6 separate regions of the Homo sapiens genome follow, and all the other regions are linked to region 5. The links are contacts of gene promoters, found by promoter capture Hi-C in human tissues and cell types (Jung and others, 2019). All regions are on one chromosome and are shown on one strand. The core of a region is centred on a gene start or on the middle of the fragment in contact, and the rest is flanking DNA. Distances in the headings are between cores, read along the strand shown.

Region 1 (3,214 bases), core at 663-3,162, 1.7 Mb before region 5:
GTTTCATATTACTTTCCATTAAATATAAGTATTCAATACAGTCATTATTTTACTTTGTTGTGAATAAGCCCCAACAACATTTTTAAACGAAATTAAATCATTTTAACAATGCTTTTTTCTTGCATTAATGTAACCACCTGGTGGCACTATTGATTAAACTTGGAAAAGCATTAAATTTTTGATAAGTCCTTATAAGAACATTTTCTACATTAAAATTGCAAATTATATGTGATTTCTGCTACCATTTCTTTCTTTGAGTATATCAAAGATGGAGGGCTGTTGCTGGAAAAACATGCTGAAAATTATTTGAAATTTCAAATGTAAAGAAAATCCTACTTATTTTTTACATTTGCAAAAGTCAAGGACTTACAAATGGTTGTGGTAATATTCAGAAAGTGAACATAAAGATGAATATTACATACTTATGATTTCTATATTTAATTGGTGAAATCATTTCAAATGGGATTTATGTATTAAAAATCAGACAAAAGTATGCCTCACTTTCTTTGGTGATCATCTTTGTGATTTGATTTCAGATAGCATAGCAAGAATATCAGTACTCTCTGAAGTAGAGATACCTGCATCTCAAATATAATCTTACATAAAATTCATTTATCTATAAAATTCTCTTACAGATTCATTTATAATCTGGTTGTATGCCTGCCAGAAATTTAAAGGATTGTGATGAACTACAATAGACCTTAATATTTTTGATCCATAAATTATGGAAACTTTAAAACTAATAAATTATGTGCAGGATGTATTTAAAAATATCAGAAGATTTTTAAGTAAAATATTCTTTGTGAAAGCAGAAAGGAACAGGATATCAGTTTACTGAGACAGCTTGGAACTCATTTGAGAGATAAAAAGGAAAAATTACCATAAGGCACTAGGAAAAAAAAAATTATAAACATTATTTGAAAGTAACCAAGTTCTGAATGAGAGAAAATATATGATTGTCTCACATTAATAAAAACTAAAATATATTGGTCATTTTAGGTTATTACATATCAATAATTTTCTAATTTCAGAACTAAAATTCTAAGTTTTAATGATTTGTACACAGTTGATTTGATTCAAATAGTCCCTTATATTTCGTTTTTGGAAGGATTTAGTTCATTTATATGTTAAGGTATATAAATTTCCTTCTTGAAAGGATTCAGTTTACTTATATGTTAAGGTATGTAAATAGGTTTTTATAACTAGTAATTATTTTGAGTCATACATTTTTAGTAATGTGAAAGAAAAAATCTTTTCTGAGATGTTATGTGATTGAAATGATTTCAAATAATTCTGTGAAGAATTATAGCAAGTAAAAATAAATGACTTCACCAACTAAAAACCATGAAATATTTTCATATGTGCTCATGTCGTGCTGCCGTAGACAGCTAAAGTCAGAATGATATATTTAGTTACATTAGTCTGGGCATTGTGTTCTAAAGAAATTCTAAAGACAGAAAAGGAAGAAAGGCTCATATTATGAACATTTATTATGTGTAAACTATTGTTATAGATTAAAGTAGTCTGAATAAATCTAAGAAAAACTGAAGTCCTGGTTAAATTTCTAAACCTACCTACACACATACACATTCACACACTCCACTACAGTCAGAAGTAGAAACATGTATGATGATTTGAACACATTTCTCTTTCTTCTTTTGGTCTATAAAGACATATATGTAAATTTTGACTTTAAGATAAGTTTACTATTGTAGGTTTACTTTACACTTTTGTCTGTAAGGTTATACACGGAGCCCCCAAATTTTAGATCTTTGTTCTACTGTGACAATCACTGTATAATTATTCTTGTCTTTACTGGCAGGAAAAGATAACCGAACTGTGGTTTGTAGAGTTCAATTACAGACACAGACATTATCAAAACCGAAGAGTAAAACTAAGAATAATTCTTACATGATTTACTAAGTCCTCTGCCATTCCTATTTTCAGACACATGGATTGGACTACGTATTTGCTAAGATAAACAAATTACTCCTAATCATAACTAGATTGATTACATTGATATACCTCATACTCAATGCAAAAAAAAAATGCAGAAATCAAAACTTGGCAGACAAGTTATTCCATTATTAAAGTATTTTGAAAAGTTCTGGATATAGTAAATTCACAGTTATTCTTTGAGATTATATTAGCCAGTCCTGAGATAAACAAAATCAGCAGGACTTATGTGTACAAATATGTATTTATACACAAACACACACACACACATACACACACACACACACACACACACATTTGGAGAGACAGAGAGAGAATGAGGAATTGGGTCATGTGATTAAGGAGCTAAGTTCTATGAACTTCCATCTGTTAAGCTGAAGGCTCAGGAAAGTTGGTCATGTAGTTTAAAGGCCTGAGAGTCAGAGGGTCATTGGTGTATATTCTAGTCCAAAGTGAAGGCATGAGAACCTGGGTCTTCAAGGACAGGAGAAGATCAGTATCGAGTTCAACCAGTCCAGCAGAAAAAAACTTCAAACTCCCTTCACCTTTTTGCTCTGTTCAGGCCCCCAGTGTATAGTATGATGCCCAGCCACCCTGAGGAGGGCCATCTGCACTCAGTTGGCCAATTCACATGTTAATCTCTTCTGAAAACACCCTAAAACACACCTAGAAATAATGTTGAACCAAGTATCTTGGCATTCAGTGGCCTGGTCAAGTTGACACCTAAAATTAACCATCACAGTCACTCTTTTCTGTGAAGGACAGAGCTACATTCTCAAGTTGAAACTCAAAAACAGACAATACATGCATATGTTCTCCATAATATCCTCTTACGCCTTTAAATGTTATGGCCATGCACTGGCTACACTATGAATACTATGTAATATTGCACGAGATACAAAAAGTTCAGTTAGAAAATATAAGAAAAAATTTGACTTAACTAGAATTCTTAACTAGAATTTACTTAACTTTACTTAACTAGAATTCTTTCTTCCCCAGTGATTTGTTACTAATGAGATTAATGTTTTGTAAAAATTAATAGTGGTAACTGCTTGTTCAAAAATTTTATAACCTATAGATTATAATTTATTGAATATAATTTATAATGTATAGGTTCATTTAAATGACTACAATAGACACTTGTAATTGTTCCTGCTTCTTGCCTTTCCATACCCCAGATTAATAGGAAAGAAACACAGTCAGCCATGACTGCCTCCTACTCCTTAAAATTCAATAGACTTCTGAATTAACCACAATC
Region 2 (3,234 bases), core at 199-2,698, 1.7 Mb after region 5:
AATAATGCATAAATACATTGCCAATAACATATTCTTTGTATTTTACTTTGTATTTGTGCTTACATGAAAATTAAAATAAACATGTTATATTAATAGTTATAAATTACATTTTTGTTGTAACTGAAGTATTGATTTCTTTTATCTCTTAAAATTAAAAAAAAAGACAGTTTAATGCCTCCATACATGTCTTTCATTCACAGATATTGGTATAACTTCTCAAAAATGTAAACATGCAGACAGAGGAGAGGAAACTGTAAAACATACTCATCACAAGTAATCACTACTCATTATCTAAGCATTTTCTTTTTCTCAGAAATATCTTTAATCCAGCTTTATAAAAATGACATTGATTATATTATAAAATGATATTGATAGTGATTTTATTTGTTAAACTCTAATAGCTAAAATAGAGTTTAAAAATTGTAAAAATCAGTACTAAGCAAATTGTTTAATTAAGGTAATTTGTTCTGAAAATACATTCTTTGTGATGATTATTTTTCTAATTATTGCCTAGATCTATGTTGTTTAATAGAACCTTTTTTTTACTATATAAATACAAATTTATACTTAGAATAGCTAAATAGTAAGAACTCTAAAGTCATGGCCTTCAAATATACTTAATACATTTTGCCATGCATATTAAAAATACTAAAACATACTGTAAAATATTTTGTATTTTATTTTAGTGGATAGTTATATAACCCAAAAGGAATAAGGTAAGCTATAATGGATTTGTCTGTAAGTGCTGGAAGGATTTTTATCTGAAGCTGCTGGTATTATAAGAAAAGAACTTTTATGTGTGTTATCTCATGAAGTTTATATAAAAGAATAAAACATAGATTGAAGTAAATACCACTGTAAACAAAAGAGGATCCTTTCAACTTAGAATTCTTATCAAAATATATGAGTACACTAAGGAAACTAAAAAGTAAAAACTACATGTATTTATGAAGGTTCAAGTTCTTTAAATTTTGAATTTTTGAATGGTATACTATAGATACAAACCAAAGAACAAAAACTAAAATTACCATTTGAACCATCAATTTCATTTCTGCGTATATATCCGAAGGAAAAGAAATTTAAAAATTAATTAGAAATTAATTAGAAAAAATTAATCTACCAAAGGAAAACAAAACAAAACAAAACAAAACACTTGCATTCATATGTTTACTTCAGCACTATTCACAATAGCAAAGACATGGAATCAACATAGGTATTCATCAACGGTTGATTGGATAAAGAAAATGTGGTACATACACACCATAGAATACTACACAGCCATAAAAAAGGACAAGATCATATTCTTTGCAGCAACATGGATCAACTTGAGGCTATTATCCTAAGTGAATTAACTCAGAAATAAAAAGTTAAAGACTTCATGTTCTCACTTAGATGTGGAAGCTAAGCATTGGGTAGACATGAACATAAGGATAGAAACAATGAACACTGGGGACTCCAAAAGGAGGGGGAGATGGCAGAGGGCAAGAGTTGAAAAACTACCTCTTGGGCACTATGTTCATCATTTAGGTGACAGGTTCAGTGGAAGCCCAAACCTCAGCTTCACACAACATATCCATGTAACAAACCTGCACAAGTACCCTCTGAAATCAATATTTTAAAAATCAACAATTTTTAAAAAGTAGATTCTTACATAAATGACATACAGAAAATACCTACTACAAGTATTGATTAATAAGTGATTAAAATGGTCTAATGGTAAGTGTGAAATTGTGGATGGGATTAGATAGGCATAGCAGAGGAAAGTAAGAAAAGAAGAGAAGCTATAATAAAGCTTAAAATAATTAATTAGTTATTGGTTAATTAGATACAGTGGATAAAGAGGAAGAATAAGTCAAAATATAACTATGTATTTTATAGGGGAGGCAATTTTGAGAAGCATATTGTCATGCTTTAGTTTAAGGAGATTATGAAGAGGCTCTAGATTAAAGCATAAGGTGATCAGGTCATTTGCATCCATATTAAACTCCGGTTAATAACAGAAAGTGAGCATAAAAACAATCAGTGGGAAAATGAAAAAATGAAGAAAAAGCCTACTTGTTGTGGGGGCAATGGGACCATTAATAAAAATATCAAGATAAATGCCAATAAAATGAGAAATACTCATGTGAGAGCAAGACTTGAAGAACGCAGAAACAGAAGGATCATGTTTTATTGCTCCCAATGCTTCTGACATGAATGAAAGGAAATCAAAACACAAAGATCCAACACATTAAGTAACACATTATAAGCTAGAAATAGAATAAGGGAAAGTTATATACTTACTGTTAGACTAAAAATGTTCATTTTGAAATTAGCACTAATTGCTTGTTAAAAATGCCAACTCATAAAATGTGACATAATGTAAAATATCAGTTTCTTAAAAAATCTGAGAAATAACTATGCATTATATTTGCATTGCATGTTGGGAAAACCTGCTCATTCTATTCTGATTTTCAATTTTCTTTGATTTTTATTATTTTTTAAAGAGACACACAAAATTAGATTGTGAATAGACTCCTATATACATGCTAGAACTTGGTAACTACCAACATTTTGCAGAACATGTTTCATCTTAGCCTCAGTCCTCTTTTATTTTTCTGAATATTTTAATGATACTACATTATTTCATGTCTACATATTTTGTAATGGATTTTAAAAATACAATTTCTTGGTGGGGCGCGGTGGCTCACATCTGTAATCCCAGCACTTTGGGAGAACGAAGTGGGCAAATCATGAGATCAGGAGTTCAAGACCAGCCTGACCAATATGGTGAAACCCCGTTTCTACTAAAAATACAAAAATTAGCCTGGTGTGGTGGTGTGCACCTGTAATCCCAGCTACTTGGGAATCTGAGGCAGGAGAATCACTTGAACCTGGGAGGTGGAGGTTGCAGTGAGCTGAGATGGCACCACTGTACTCCAGCCTGGGCAACATAGTGAGTGAGACTCTGTCTTTAAAAAAAAAAAAAAAAAAAAAAAAAGAAAAAACAGTTTCTTATAAAACCTTAGTAACTCTATAGCATGTAACAAAATTAGCAATGATTTATCATCATACCTAGTACATATCCAAACTATTAAAATTATTTGTAATATTTTCTCTTGTTAATATTTAAATTTCTTTTCATATGCAAATTTCTAGACATGTTATTATGGCAGAGCATAATAAGCCATAGTGTGTCCCATAACTATAACAATTTCATGCCACAAATTATTTAATTTCTCCTCTCTCAGCCTC
Region 3 (3,592 bases), core at 964-3,463, 2.0 Mb after region 5:
TGGGGAAAAGATCAATAGATGGTGCTGGGAAAACTGGACATCCATATGCAGAAGAAGGAAACTAAACCCCTATCTCTCACCATATACAAAAATCAAATCAAGATGGATGAAGACCTAAATCTCTGACCTAAACCTATGAAGCTACTACAGGAAAATATTAGGGATTATCTCCAGGATATTGGTCTGGACAAAAATGTTTTGAGCAATACCCCACAAGCACAGGCAACCAAAGAAAAATTTGACAAAGGGATCACATAAGTTAAAAAGCTTCTGCATAGCAAAGGATACAACCAAGACAGTGAGGAGACAACTCCCAGAATGGAAGAAAATATTTGCAAACTACCCATCTGACAAAGGATTAATAACCAGAATACTTCAGGATCTCAAACAAGGCTATAGAAAACATCAAATAATCCAATAAAAAATGGAGAAACAGTCTGAATAGACATTTCTCAAAAGAAGACATAGAAATGGCAAATGGGCTTAGGAAAAAGTGCTCAACATCACTGATCATCAGAAAAATGCACATCAAAACTACTATGAGATATTATCCCACCCTAGTTAAAAGGAATTATATCCAAAAGACAGTCAATAACACATCCTGCTGAGGATATGAAGGGAACCCCTGTACACTATTGATGGGAATATAAATTAGTATGACCACTATGGAAAACAGTTTGGAGGTTCTTCAAAAAACTAAAAATAGAACTACCATATAATCTAGCACCCCCAAACTGCTGGGTATATACCCAAGAGAAAGGAAATCAGTATATCAAAGAGATGTCTGCACTCCCATGTTTGTTGCAGCACTATTTATAATAATAACTAAGATTTTAAATCAACCTATGTGTCTGATATGGTTTGGCTGTGTCCCCTCCCGAATCTCATATTGAACTGTAACTCTCATAATTCCCACCTGTTGTGGGAGAGACCTGGTGGGAGATAATTGAATCATGGGGGCGCTTTCCCCCGTATACTGTTCTTATGGTAGTGAATAAGTCTCATGAGATCTGATGATTTTATAATAGGTTTCTCCTTTTGCTTGGCTCTCATTTCTCTCATGTCTGCTGCCATGTAAGACATGCCTTTCATCTTCCACCATAATTGTGAGGCCTCCCCAGCTACATGGCACTGTGGGTCCACTAAACCTCTTTTTCTTTATAAATTACCCAGTCTCTGGTATGTCTTTATCAGCAGCATGAAAAGAGTGTCTATCAACAGATACATGGATATGGAAAATGTGGTACATATACACAATGGAGTACTACTCAGTCATAAAAAAGAATGTGATCCATTCATTTGCAACAACATGAATAGAACTGGAGATCACCATGTCAAGTGAAATAAACCAGGCACAGAAAGAAAAACATCATGTGTTATCACTTATTTGTGGGATCTAAAAATCCAAACAATTGAACTCATGGACATAGAGAGTAGAAAGATGATTACCAGAGGCTCAAAATGGAAGGAGGGGCAGGGAGGCAGTGGGGATGGTTAATGAGTACACAAATTAGTTAGAGAGAATGAATAAGACCTACTATTTGATAGCACAACAGGGTGACTATATTCAATAATAACAATTGTACATATTAAGATAACAAAGAGTGCAATTGGATTGTTTATAACTAAAAGTATAAATGCTTAAAGGGATAGATACCCCATTCTTCATTATGTGCTTATTTCATGTTCTGTTATCAGAATATCTCATGTACTCCATAATTATATACACCTACTATGTATGCACAAAAATTAAGAATAAAAAATAAAATAAAATATTTTATTAACATCTCATTATAAAATAATTTGAATGTTATTTATAAAAAGATAATGAGATATATTATAAAAACAATTCTTAAATGAAAAAACATTATTATATAACAGTATCAAAAAGCATTATTACAACAAAGGCATTATTACAATAACAATAAAATTGTCTAATATTAAACCAGAAGTGAACAAGTGGTTTAAGTATTCTGCATTCATTGGTAATCAACAGACACCTCATGTGATGCTCATTATTAGAGGACTGACTTCTTATATGCCTCCAATATTCATAGGTACCAAACCTACAATAATCATATAGAAGAGATATACTTGGAAAGTTATGTTATAAGGTAGAAAAATATCGAAAAGGAAAGTTTTGCCTCTTAATATTTTGCTGGTTAGAAAAACAAGAATCTCAGATGCAAGACTTCTTTAATGAAGCTAATACATCTTTGCTGTGTATGGTATTATACAGAATGACAATAAAGTAAAATCTTCATTAGAAGATTATATGTATTTCTGTTTTGATTAAATCAATAATCCTTTAAAATATTTAAAATTACTTTCACTCAGTGTTATTATTTCCTATAGAATGTAATGAAAGCAATATTTTGTAAACTGTACTCATTAAAATCCTGTCTCTAATGTTCATTGCATGAACTCACCATGTAGGTAAAGATAAACTCTAATGAGGTCCTTTGATGATTTCTGTAGCAAATCCCCTCTGGTACCACAGGATAAATTGGCCTTATGCAGAAATATTCTCTATATTATACTGTGGGTTTCACCACACACAGAAATCACATCAAATCAGAATAAAACATAAATGATTTACACCTCTAATAGTCTTTTACCTAATACAGGTCAACCTACATAGTTTTTTTTCAGATGTATCCTGAAACATGAATAAAAACTCATAGTGAATTAACACAGTCAAGTATGTACGTATTTCCCTAGTTTATTAAACACATTTTGAGGTCCTATTATGAACTATGCAATAGTTGGGGTGCTGTGAACACACCAAAAACCAAAACAAAAACGTACGTCCCCTTTCTCATAACGTTTGTAGGTTTGAGAGGGAAGCAGACAATTAAAAGACATTAACAATAAATATGCAATTATGAGATGTGCAAATACTAAAAGGAAAAATCCAGATGGTTAAAATGTGGGAGGGGTAGAGGTAACATTTGTGAAAATATTTCTGATTAAAACAAGGAAGCAGGCATACAGATATCTGGTTTACCAGAAAAAAAAAAATGTGTTTTCCACACTCAAGTGTCTACAGGTCTCCTGGAGTTCAGCTGATCTAGTGTGAACTTGACTGGGCTCTTCTACTTCTGGATGAGGGCCAGATGCATTTGTTATTTGTCTATAAAACGAGTCAAGAGCTGCTCCATTTGTCCCTCTTTAGATCTGCAGCTGAGGTGTGTTCTTTTTAGGGATAATAGTAGATGGAAAACCAGACCAAAAAAAAGCATATTTTGTGTCTCTATTTATGCCAAAAAGACTCATATTTCATTGCCAAAGCAAATTACGTAGCCAAGTCTAATATTAATATGGGAGACAAGTATTTTTAATCTACAATGGCAGAGCACACAGAGCTATGTTGCAAAGAGTATGGGCTTACTGTCCAAACAGAAAGAAATATTAGAATCAGCCATTCAGTATCCTGGTACAGAAGGTGGCTGGTCTTCTGTTCAGAGTAAAGACTATTTTTTTTTTGAGTGAGATGTGAAGCTATTGCAGAATTTTGGGCAAAGAGGGACATCATTTGATTTGAATGTTGAAAAAAATTACTTCAGTCTTTTTTTGCAAATATATTGTCATG
Region 4 (3,295 bases), core at 167-2,666, 1.0 Mb after region 5:
GTTGAAATCCAAGTCCCTGAATAATGGTGTTTGAAGGTGGGGCCTTTGGGAGGTAGTTAGGCCACAAGGGTGAAGCCTTCATGAATGGGATTAGTGCCTTAATAAGAAGCCATAGAGCTAGCTCTAGCTCTTTCTGCAAGTGAAGATGCAATGAAAACTAGTAGTCAGCTGGGCACGTTGGCTCATGCCTGTAATCTCAGCACTTTGGGAGGCTGAGGTGGGCGGATCACCTGAGGTCAGGAGTTCAAGACCAGCCTGACCAACATGAAGAAACCCCCCTCTCTACTAAAAATACAAAAAATTAGCCAGGCGCGGTGTCAGGCACCTGTAATCCCAGCTACTGGGGAGGCTGAGGTGGGAGAATCGTTTGAATCCAGGAGGCGGAGGTTGCAGTGAGCCGAGATCATGTCACTGCACTCCAGCCTGGGCGACAGAGCGAGACTTTATCTCAAATAATAATAATAATGATAATAATAATAATAATCAGCAAACTTGAAAAGGCTCCTCATAAAACCCGGTTAGGATGGTGCTCATCTCCAATTTCCATCCTCCAAGACTATGAGAAATAAGTTTCCATTATTGATAAGCCACACAGTCTATAGTACATTTTTATCATTATGGCATTTTAACAAAATCACATATCTCACTTGCATTACTTTAAATATCTTCCTCAAATATTTAAGACAATTATGTGGCTAACTTTGCATTAGACTGGGTTGACAAATTGTTATTCTATTCATACACTATATAAACAATGTATAGCATTTCATCTTTATATAAAATTTCACCCAAATTCAAGCTTGTTTTATTTATTTCCTTATTTTTGGCTAATAGTTTCAGGCAAGGAAATATCATTGGTCAATATTGAACATCAGAAATGTTGAAGTGAGTAAATTTGAAAAATCATAGCTGAAAGCAATCTAGGGAATTAAACATGCTTTGGACAACACTATTTCTCCATTTTAATTGTCTGAACTTTTTGGATGAGTCTGCTATTGCCAAGCAATTCACATGTTCATGATATAACACGAATAATGTTAAATGGCTCACTGCACTCTCATTTAAATGCAGTAGGTTATTTTTCATGATTTTGTTTATTCCTTTATTATGAAGACTGGTAAAACAAAATAAAATTCCAATCATTATAGGGGTTTAAAATAAACCAAAGTTCATCATCATAAAATGATAGAATAAACATTTTATCACAAAACTTTCACTTAAGACATAAAATGTCTTCTAGGGTTTTTATGGTTTTAGGTCTTACGTTTAAATCTTTAATCCATCTTGAGTTAATTTTTGTATAAGGTATAAGGAAGGGGTCCAGTTTCAGTTCTCTGCATATGGCTAGCCAGTTTTCCCAACACCATTTATTAAATAGGAAATTTTTTCCCCATTGCTTGTTTTTGTCAAAGATCAGATGGTTGTAGATGTGTGGTGTTATTTCTGAGTCTTCTGTTCTGTTCCACATACGCATGGGCAATGACTTAATGACTAAAACACCAAAAGCAATTGCAACAAAAGCCAAAGTAGACAAATGGGATTTAATTAAACTAAAGAGCTTCTGCATGGCAAAAGAAACTATCGTCGGAGTCAACAGGCAACCTACAGAATGGGAGAAAATTTTGCAATCTCTCCATCTGACAAAGGGCTAATATCCAGAATCTACAAGGCACTTACACAAATTTACAAGAAAATAAAAAAAAAACATCAAAACTGGGCAAAGGATATAAACAGACACTTTCAAAAGAAGACATTTATGCGGCCAAAAAACATGAAAAAAAGGTCATCATCACTGGTTGTTAGAGAAATGCAAATCAAAACCACAATGAGATACCATCTCATGCCAGTTAGAATGGCGATCATTAAAAAGTCAGGAAAAAACAGTTACTGGAGAGGTTGTAGAGAAATAGGAAGGCTTTTACACTGTTGGTGGGCGTATAAATTAGTTCAACCATTGTGTAAGACAGTGTCGCGATTCCTCAAGGATCTGGAACTAGAAATACCATTTGATCAGCAATCCCATTACTGGGTATATGCACAAAGGATTATGACTCATTCTACTACAAAGACACATGCACATGTATGTTTATTGCAGCATTATTCACAATAGCGAGAACTTGGAACCAACACAAATGCCCATCAATTTTAGACTGGATTAAGAAAATGTGGCACACATACATCATGGAATACTATGCAGCCATAGGAAAGAATGAGTTCATGTCCTTTGGAGGGACATGGATGAAGCTGGAAACCATCGTTCTCGGCAGACTAACACAGGAACAGAAAACCAAACACCGCATGTTGTCACTCATAATTGCTCATAAGTGGGAGTTGAACACTGAGAACATAAGGGCACAGGGAAGGAGGGAACATCACACACCGGGGCCTGTTGGGGGTTAGGGCTCTAGGGGAGGGATTGCATTAGGAGAAATACCTAATGCAGATGACAGGTTGATGAGTGCAGAAAACTACCATGGCACATGTAAACCTATGTAACAAACCTGCACGTTCTGCACATGTATCCCAGAACTTAAAGTATAATTAAAAAAAAAAAAAAAGGTAATGATAATCTAATTCGTGGAATTTCTGAAAAATTGACTTCTAAACTGTAAGAATAATTTGGTTTACAGCATGTTCTACCAATATGGAAGTATTTACTGAAAATATTGAATGACATACATATTTGAAAATGATAGATCTTTCCATGTACCATAAAAATTGAGTCATTGTCAACTTAGTGTTTGCTTTTCCCAAGCAAATTAAACATTTATTGCTGGAAGAAATGAAAAACATGGCTCCACAACCCTTTCTGTGTCTCACATTGGATAGTCAGTATTTTTTGCACAGAAGGACAACCATCATAAGCAAATTAAGTGATTGCCTATGACATTTCTCCCAAATATTTACAGATAATTTTTAAATGTAATTTTTCAATAACGATAAAAGGTTAAAGTGAAGACATCATTCAAAGGTGGGCATGACAGTGTAGAAACCAATTAGGGAAGGGTAGGTATATGTAAAATAGGTGAAGGGTGGGGAAATCAGAGGAAAGCCCACTAAACAGGGAGACAAGTTGCCAAGCCAGTCTGAGGATTTAACTTGTAGCTTGACTTTCAGGCTTTAAATTGTCTTCGGCTTAGAGGTGACGTTTCACCAGGGACCCACCCCTATCTGCCTAGGCATTTGGTTGCCTCCTGCCCTCTCACATTGATGAAATGCATTACGAAAATATTAAAACTAACAATACCAAATGTATAACTAGCTATATTATAAAAAAGAAAATGTAATAATGAAA
Region 5 (3,188 bases), core at 97-2,596:
TTTTCTAAGGAGCCAGAGAGAAAGTGCAGATGAAAGGACCCATCGTCAGCGTTTGCAGGTCGCGGTAACCCCAGGCCAGATTGACATGGGCTCCGCACCCGGGCCGGTGATTCTGCCTCTTAACCGCTCTTGCAGGAGAGGTGACGTTAATCTCACAAACGTTTTCCTACCCTTCTAGGAGAAATAACGATAAGCCCCAATCTTAAGGAGCAGAGAGTTAGTTCCGGGCGTTTGCCACGGCTCCCTCACTTCAATTTACACTCGCACACGCGGGTACGTGGGTGTTCGGGGTAGGGCACTGATCTGGGGAAGGTCTCCCCCCCGCGACCCAACTCATCTTTGCACATTTGCAGTCCTCCCTCGGTGCACTCCTGGCGGGGATCTGGCCAGTGCAGCGCACTGGGACCGAGGGCAGAGCCCGCGGAGTGAGGCCAGGAGAGACTTCAGGCCTCTAAGGACACAGCTGAGGCTAAGGCTGAGTTGAACGCAGCCCCTCCCGCGGCTCGTCCCCTCTCCAGTGTCTCTCCCGTAAGGTGCCGCTCCCAACAGCAATGGGTCGAGATGTAGAGGAAACACTCTGTACGTTATTTTTCCGCCCACCCTTTAGCGCCTGAGGAGACAGACAGTGTAGACTTTAGGGTACAATTGCTTCCCCTCTGTCGCGGCGGGGTGGGGAGCGTGGGAAGGGGACAGCCGCGCAAGGGGCCAGCCTGCTCCAGGTTTGAGCGAGAGAGGGAGAAGGAGGTCCACGGAGAGACAAGAATCTCCCTCCTCCCACGCCCAAAAGGAATAAGCTGCGGGGCACACCGCCCGCCTCCAGATCCCCCATTCACGTTGAGCCGGGGCGCGCTCGGGGCGGTCGCCTGCAGTATCAGTATCAGCATCAGCATCAGCATCAGCATCTGCATGAGCATCAGCTCAGCTCAGCTCAGCTCAGCATCAGCTCAGCTGTCCTGAGGCAGCCGGCGGCTGTGAAGGAGCTCCAGGCTGCCCCCATCCCCACGCCCTTCTCGGCTCAGGGCGTGCATGAACCTGCGGATGGCCGGCGGGCGAGTGGCGCCTTCGCGATCGCGGCCGCCCCTCTAGGCGGAGGCACCGGGGACCGAACCCGTGACTTCGAGCTCCACTGCGGACGAATCCCGGGACCGCGCGCCTCGCGGAAGAGCGGCCGCCGTGCAGCGCGGAGGGATACGCCTCGGCCGCACCTCCCCTCGCCGCGCCCCCGCCCCCGCCGCCCTCCCCGCCCGGCTCTGCTGCCGCCGCGGCGGCCGCTGCTGCTGCTGCTTCTGCCGCCGCTGCCGCCGCCGCTGCCTGGATATAGTGCGGCAAGAGCGGAGCTTGCAGTCACTTTGCGAGGAGGAGCGCGCGGGCTGCGGGCGGCTGGGGCACCGCGGGAGCGGCGGCGGCGGCTCTAGCAGAGGCGGCCGGGGCAGCGAAAGGTTCTCTCTCCAGGGCTGGACTTAATAACTTTGAAACTGTCCACCGGTGTCACGTCCTGAACATGAGCCTCCTCCTCTCCTTCTACCTGCTGGGGTTGCTTGTCAGTAGCGGGCAAGGTAGGAGTGTGGCGCTTTATTGCATTTACTTTCCCTCCCCCTTCCACCCGGCCAAGAGAGGCAAAGAGGGAGGCGCAGGAAGAATGAAATGAAAGAACTAAAGTTACAGTTATTGCTGTTGTTGTTATTATTATTTTCGTTCTTTCTCCTAGCTGTCCCTAAAATTGTATCTGTTGTGTGGAGACCCTTAAATAAGAGAAGGGAAAATACAGAATTGGAGAGGGGAATCGGTGAGCAGGATATCCAGGGAAACCGCTTCTTCTTCTTCTTTTTTTTTCCTCTGGGATTATGGCTTTCTCTTATTTTTATTATCAGAAATTGGATGAGTGTGTTAACAGTGAAATATCTGAGGTTGCGGAAGGAAAGGGCACGATGGTGTTTTACAGAAGCAGCAAAAACTATCAGTGTTAAACTCATTTGCAAAATATCTGCTGTGTGCAAGACGTTCGATTCTTGGAGACTCTTTTTTTTTTCCACCCCTTTCCCAAAACCCTAATTCCTGACTATGAAGTGAATGATGATGGCTTATTTCTGTTGGAAACTAAGAGAGGGGCCGTGGATATTGTGTGTAAGAAAGCAAATGGATAAAACTAGGGATGTGTTGCAGTCATTCATTTTGACCCCAACCCCTTATTAATACAGAAAGGTGGAATCATTTTATAACATTACATTGTAATTACACCTGTAGAGGATTTTTGGGGTTGTGGGAGAACTGGTGGAAGCTTTTATCTCTTAAAAAAAAAAAATGAATAGCCTGGTAGAATAACCTGAGAGGGAATTTGTGGAAGCTATCACTGTTTGTCTCTAGAGAGATAGATATGAATTTATCTGGCTGTTTAGATAGTAAACACTCACATGAAATATATTTACAATAAATGGAAGCATTTTCAACTGTCCAGACAAGTTTGGACGTTTAATTAGGGACACAAAATGCTAAAACATGCATTGGTGAAAGTCTTTAAAGGAAAAATAAAATAGCACTAATTTTGAGATATGTAATGATTGCAAAGAATGTTATGTTGTTAGTGTAGTGTGAAATTGGTTTTTTAAAATAATATAATAAATTACAAGACAAGTTAAAATATCCCCAAGATATTCAGTTCTAAGCATTTTTAGCCTCTTCTGTATTGCTCGTTTGGTCCAGCAGGGGGTGGTAGAACTCCATTTTAAGCCCAGAAGTTGGTTTCTGCTCTTCCACAGAGTCCTTCTATCATTCTTCAGCAGGGCTTGACATTTTGGATGTGAAGCCTTCCTTTTTCTGCCCTTCTCCTCCCCACAGCTATAGTGTTAGTGGCGGATGAAACACGATTGGATGCAGATTTAATGTTCAGAAATCAGTATGCAAATGTTGGATATTCCTATAGTTTGTAAAGTGTCTTGATAAGATTCTGCTCATTTTCCCTTCCTAACATAGAGTATGAAATATTTCAGTCTTAGCAAAATTGCAGATATGTCCATCTGAAGCTAATACTAGCCCAATTCGTTAATTCAGTGGTTCTTAAGCAAAGATCAGCATGCACATATGTCCTACAGATATGCTTCTTTAATTTTCAGATAGCTGCTGATTGTGTTTAACTGTTCATTTATAGCATAGACAGGTATTTTTGAGCACCAAGAAACAATCCCTGAAAA
Region 6 (3,490 bases), core at 50-2,549, 1.1 Mb after region 5:
GATTCAAGACACTTTTAAATCATTTTGGAAGATGCATAGATATATGTATTATAATTATACATATATAGAAAGAGATTGATACACCTACAGAGATATGCAGATTAAATAATGTTAATGTATTATTTCCCTATTGCTTTTCTGTTGTCTGTAACAAATTACTGTGAGAGCCGTGGTTTTTCTCCCGCCCCTCGTGACCAGTGAACATGGCTTTTGCATGCAGTGAACATGACCAGGTTCCCAAGCTGGGAGGGGACAGGGCATGAATTTGTCAAGTTCCCTGAGTGCCTGTGGATGTGGGGGTGGAAACAGAACCATGTTGTTCTGATTTGCACCTTTGATGGCTGAGCCAAATGCTCATTCTATTTAGTATTACAGCCGTAATCTGTAGCAAAACGCTTAGCATTATAAAGGAAAGATCAGAACCATTTCAAACCATGAGAGAAGACAAGACACCAAAGGAAGTCTGGGGTTCTTGACCAATGGAGCTCACCCTTGGGGCCTTCCAGCAAAAGATGCCTTCAGTTGCCCCGGGGCTTTACTCCCGACCCATGTGGTAGTTAGACCTCCCCGAAAGGAAACAGAGCATGAAAGAGAGAGGTGGCAGGGTCTTGGAAAAGAGACAGATCCGACAGTTTTCCATTTCAACTCACCCTTCTGATGAATATCCCAGATGGAGCCCCCAGATGAAATGGCCACGGCAACGGCCACGACGGGCGGGGGAAAAACCACAGCTGCCACTGGGAGCCTGCACGGTTGGCTGGCTGGCGCTTGCTGCCCGGTGTGCCAGTGGAACTCTACTCTGGCCAAGGAATTCAGCTCTGTCTGAACAGAGGGGAAGCATACAATGATTAAGGAGACACATTTGCGCTGAGCAAGGGGTTCTTCCCCCAGGACCTTCCCCTTTTGTTCCTTAAACTGTTTTCTCTTGTTTTCCTTTTCCAAGAGGTTTTCTTCCCCAGCACGCTGCTTCTGTTAGGGAAGTTAATGGAGAAGCGACCCCTACTGGCTGATAACTGCAAATTTAGCGGGGCTCATTTGAGATAGTTGATTCATGCAGCCACTTGAAATACTTTTGAGTCCCAAACTTGATTACAAGCTTCAGGCTGAGGCCCTAGAAAGGAAAACCAGATCTGAGGGATCCAAAGCCAGGCAATAGGCACAATGTAAATGGACAGGACCAATTCCTGCTGACCAAAGCCCCCACCCCACGGAAACAGGCCATGCTCTGTGGCGTAAATGAGACCTAGGAAACTCAAAGGTTGTCAACAGCAGGGAAAGATGGAGGCGAAGGTAAGGTCAGAAAATTCCTGTTCTCTACGCTTTCCCTGTTTTATGGGTGCATGCTGCATTGGCACCCATGAGCAGTACCTGCCAAGGTCACCTGGACACAGGGATAAAAAGATGGAAGAGAAAGGGAGGGCACTTGTTTTCTCTCTCCACACCCCGAGGTTCGCTGAAAGAAGGAAGGGAAGTGAGGGACGGCTCTATAGCCTATCTTTCGGAATGAGTAACCAGCTCTCTTCACCACCCCCAGCTTGTACTCTTCTGGAATGTATTCTAAACCATTGGAACTGCTTTGACCCTCAGAATCTGGAGGAAAAAAAATGTCTCATAGTCCTCTGTACAAAGATTTGGCCAAATTATGATTTATAGCAAGGACTGGCTTGGCCTCAGGAAGGAACCATTTATTTCAATACCATCCTGCAATTGGACCTTTTCTGTAAACATGAGGACTAGTGGTCTGAGGACCCATATGTGCAGGCTTTCTATATCTTGCAGGGCAATCCTGATCTTTGCCAACAGTGTAGGATTGATCCAGCCCTCCTGTTTGCCACTTCGGGAGAGGCTACCAGGGGCAATCTCAAGCAACTAAAGAAAGAAACCCCAGAGGTTCCCCCAGAAGAGGAGCCAGCTCCCTCCAACCCTGCTCCTTCAGGTCCTCCCCAACTTCCCTATCCAGCTTCAGCCTCTCACATTTCCCCTCCAAGAAATTCTCACCCTAGACAAGCCCCAGTCTTACTCTTGCCTCTGCAACAAGTGCCTGGTGAATTTGGCCCCAGTAAGGTCCAGACCCCTTCTCTTTATAGGACTTAAAGCAAATTAAGGGGGCTATTGACAAGTTTGTAGAGGACCCTCACAGATATATAGAGGCTTTCCAGAATTTCACCCAAAGATCTGAACTCTCCTGGAGAGATATTATGTTACTTGTGAATCAGACTCTGATGCATACTGAGAAGCAAGCCACTTTGCAAGTGACAGGGAGATTTGGGGAGGAGCTTTGTATAACATATAGCATCAGGGAAGACGGTGAACATTATCTAACTGGTAGAGAAGCAGTACCAGTGAATGACCCTGGATGGGATCCCAATGATGAGATGAGAGACTGGAATAGGAGACACTTCTAGGTATGCATAATCGGGGTCTTAAGACCAGGATCAAGCCTCCCAATTATGCTAAATTGTCCATGATCGATCAGGGATTTGATGAAAATCCCACTGCCTTCTTGGAATGGCTAAGAGAAGGCTTGGTAATGCACACCTCTCTGTCTCCTGATTCCATCGAGGGACAACTAATCTTAAAGAATAAGTTTATTATTCAGGCAGCCCCTGATATCAGGAGGAAGTTGAGGGAACAGGCCCTGGGACCAGATAGTACTTTAGAGAACCTTCTGAAAGTGGTCACCTCGGTCTTTTATAGTAGGTCACTGGAATGGATTCTTGAATTTATTATACCCAAGTAAAGGCCTGGGAAATGGATGGAGCCACTTCTGTCAACCCAGAAGAGTACCCAAAGTACCAACGTGAAGAGATCAGGGACCTCGAGCTAAAAATCACAAAAGATAAGTGTTAATAATTAACCTTCCATGGACATCCTCTATATAGTCTTGGCTATGCTTGCTGTTCTTACCTTTGTTCTGTTCTGTATCACGGGGCACGACAGTGTTTTCAGAATAATTAATATATTTCACTTCTTATTTCTGTAATTGTTGGCACTAAATTCTTTCCTTGTCCAAGACGCATGTTTAACCTATGCATACGTAACTTTATAAAAATTTGTTTTGTTTCTTCTCTCACACCGAGAGGCTATCGAACTCCAAACGGTCAGGTAACCGGAGCCTCGGACAATGGCTCCCCTTTGCCAAGAACCCTTAGGTAGAACTCTGGAAGGAATCTGACTTCCCTTTTCCCCAAAACAACGTTCCCTGTCAACATGAAGTAGCTAAGACCGGTCGTTGTCTATATTCTAACAGCAGTTAGGTGTGCCTCTTCAGAGGGAGGAAATGATACGGGAGGAGGGCAGGGAAGTGCTGGGTAGAGAAGGTAAGAGTCTCTGGTGAGAGCGCCACCCTCGGGCCTGTGCCTGCGGACCTAAGTGAAGACAGGCACTCCTGTTTTCACGTCTGAATGTTGCATTTTCCAAGACCACTCTGGCCTGCCAAGCGCCCCATACTGTGCCGGTATAAACCCGAGACCTTAGCAGGCATACACAC

Evidence for each region. The method cuts DNA at HindIII sites, captures the fragments that hold promoters and counts their contacts. A contact is called where the count stands out against the background at its distance.
Region 1: a contact is called between a fragment that was not itself captured here and the fragment with the promoter of NCAM2 in region 5, in 1 of the 25 tissues and cell types used here (dorsolateral prefrontal cortex).
Region 2: a contact is called between a fragment that was not itself captured here and the fragment with the promoter of NCAM2 in region 5, in 1 of the 25 tissues and cell types used here (lymphoblastoid cells).
Region 3: a contact is called between a fragment that was not itself captured here and the fragment with the promoter of NCAM2 in region 5, in 1 of the 25 tissues and cell types used here (dorsolateral prefrontal cortex).
Region 4: a fragment that was not itself captured here is called in contact with the fragment with the promoter of NCAM2 in region 5 in 1 of the 25 tissues and cell types used here (lymphoblastoid cells).
Region 6: a fragment that was not itself captured here is called in contact with the fragment with the promoter of NCAM2 in region 5 in 1 of the 25 tissues and cell types used here (lymphoblastoid cells).

What each region holds. Positions count from the first base shown.
Region 1 is chr21:19,322,416-19,325,629 of GRCh38, forward strand. No RefSeq gene overlaps it. Among named protein-coding and RNA genes, the nearest start is that of MIR548XHG, 560 kb to the left of the region's middle. The HindIII fragment of the contact is 8,874 bases long and covers 1-3,214 here.
Region 2 is chr21:22,705,870-22,709,103 of GRCh38, forward strand. No RefSeq gene overlaps it. Among named protein-coding and RNA genes, the nearest start is that of MIR6130, 370 kb to the right of the region's middle. The HindIII fragment of the contact is 4,596 bases long and covers 1-3,234 here.
Region 3 is chr21:22,988,094-22,991,685 of GRCh38, forward strand. No RefSeq gene overlaps it. Among named protein-coding and RNA genes, the nearest start is that of MIR6130, 89 kb to the right of the region's middle. The HindIII fragment of the contact is 4,354 bases long and covers 37-3,592 here.
Region 4 is chr21:22,028,441-22,031,735 of GRCh38, forward strand. All of the region lies in intron 4 of LINC01687 (long intergenic non-protein coding RNA 1687), which reads right to left. Among named protein-coding and RNA genes, the nearest start is that of LINC01687, 68 kb to the right of the region's middle. The HindIII fragment of the contact is 8,159 bases long and covers 1-3,295 here.
Region 5 is chr21:20,997,063-21,000,250 of GRCh38, forward strand. It overlaps NCAM2 (neural cell adhesion molecule 2), which reads left to right and starts at 1,347. Exons shown (of 18, transcript NM_004540.5): 1 at 1,347-1,556. The coding sequence starts at 1,502. The HindIII fragment of the contact is 14,781 bases long and covers 1-3,188 here.
Region 6 is chr21:22,120,071-22,123,560 of GRCh38, forward strand. No RefSeq gene overlaps it. Among named protein-coding and RNA genes, the nearest start is that of LINC00308, 23 kb to the left of the region's middle. The HindIII fragment of the contact is 4,627 bases long and covers 1-3,490 here.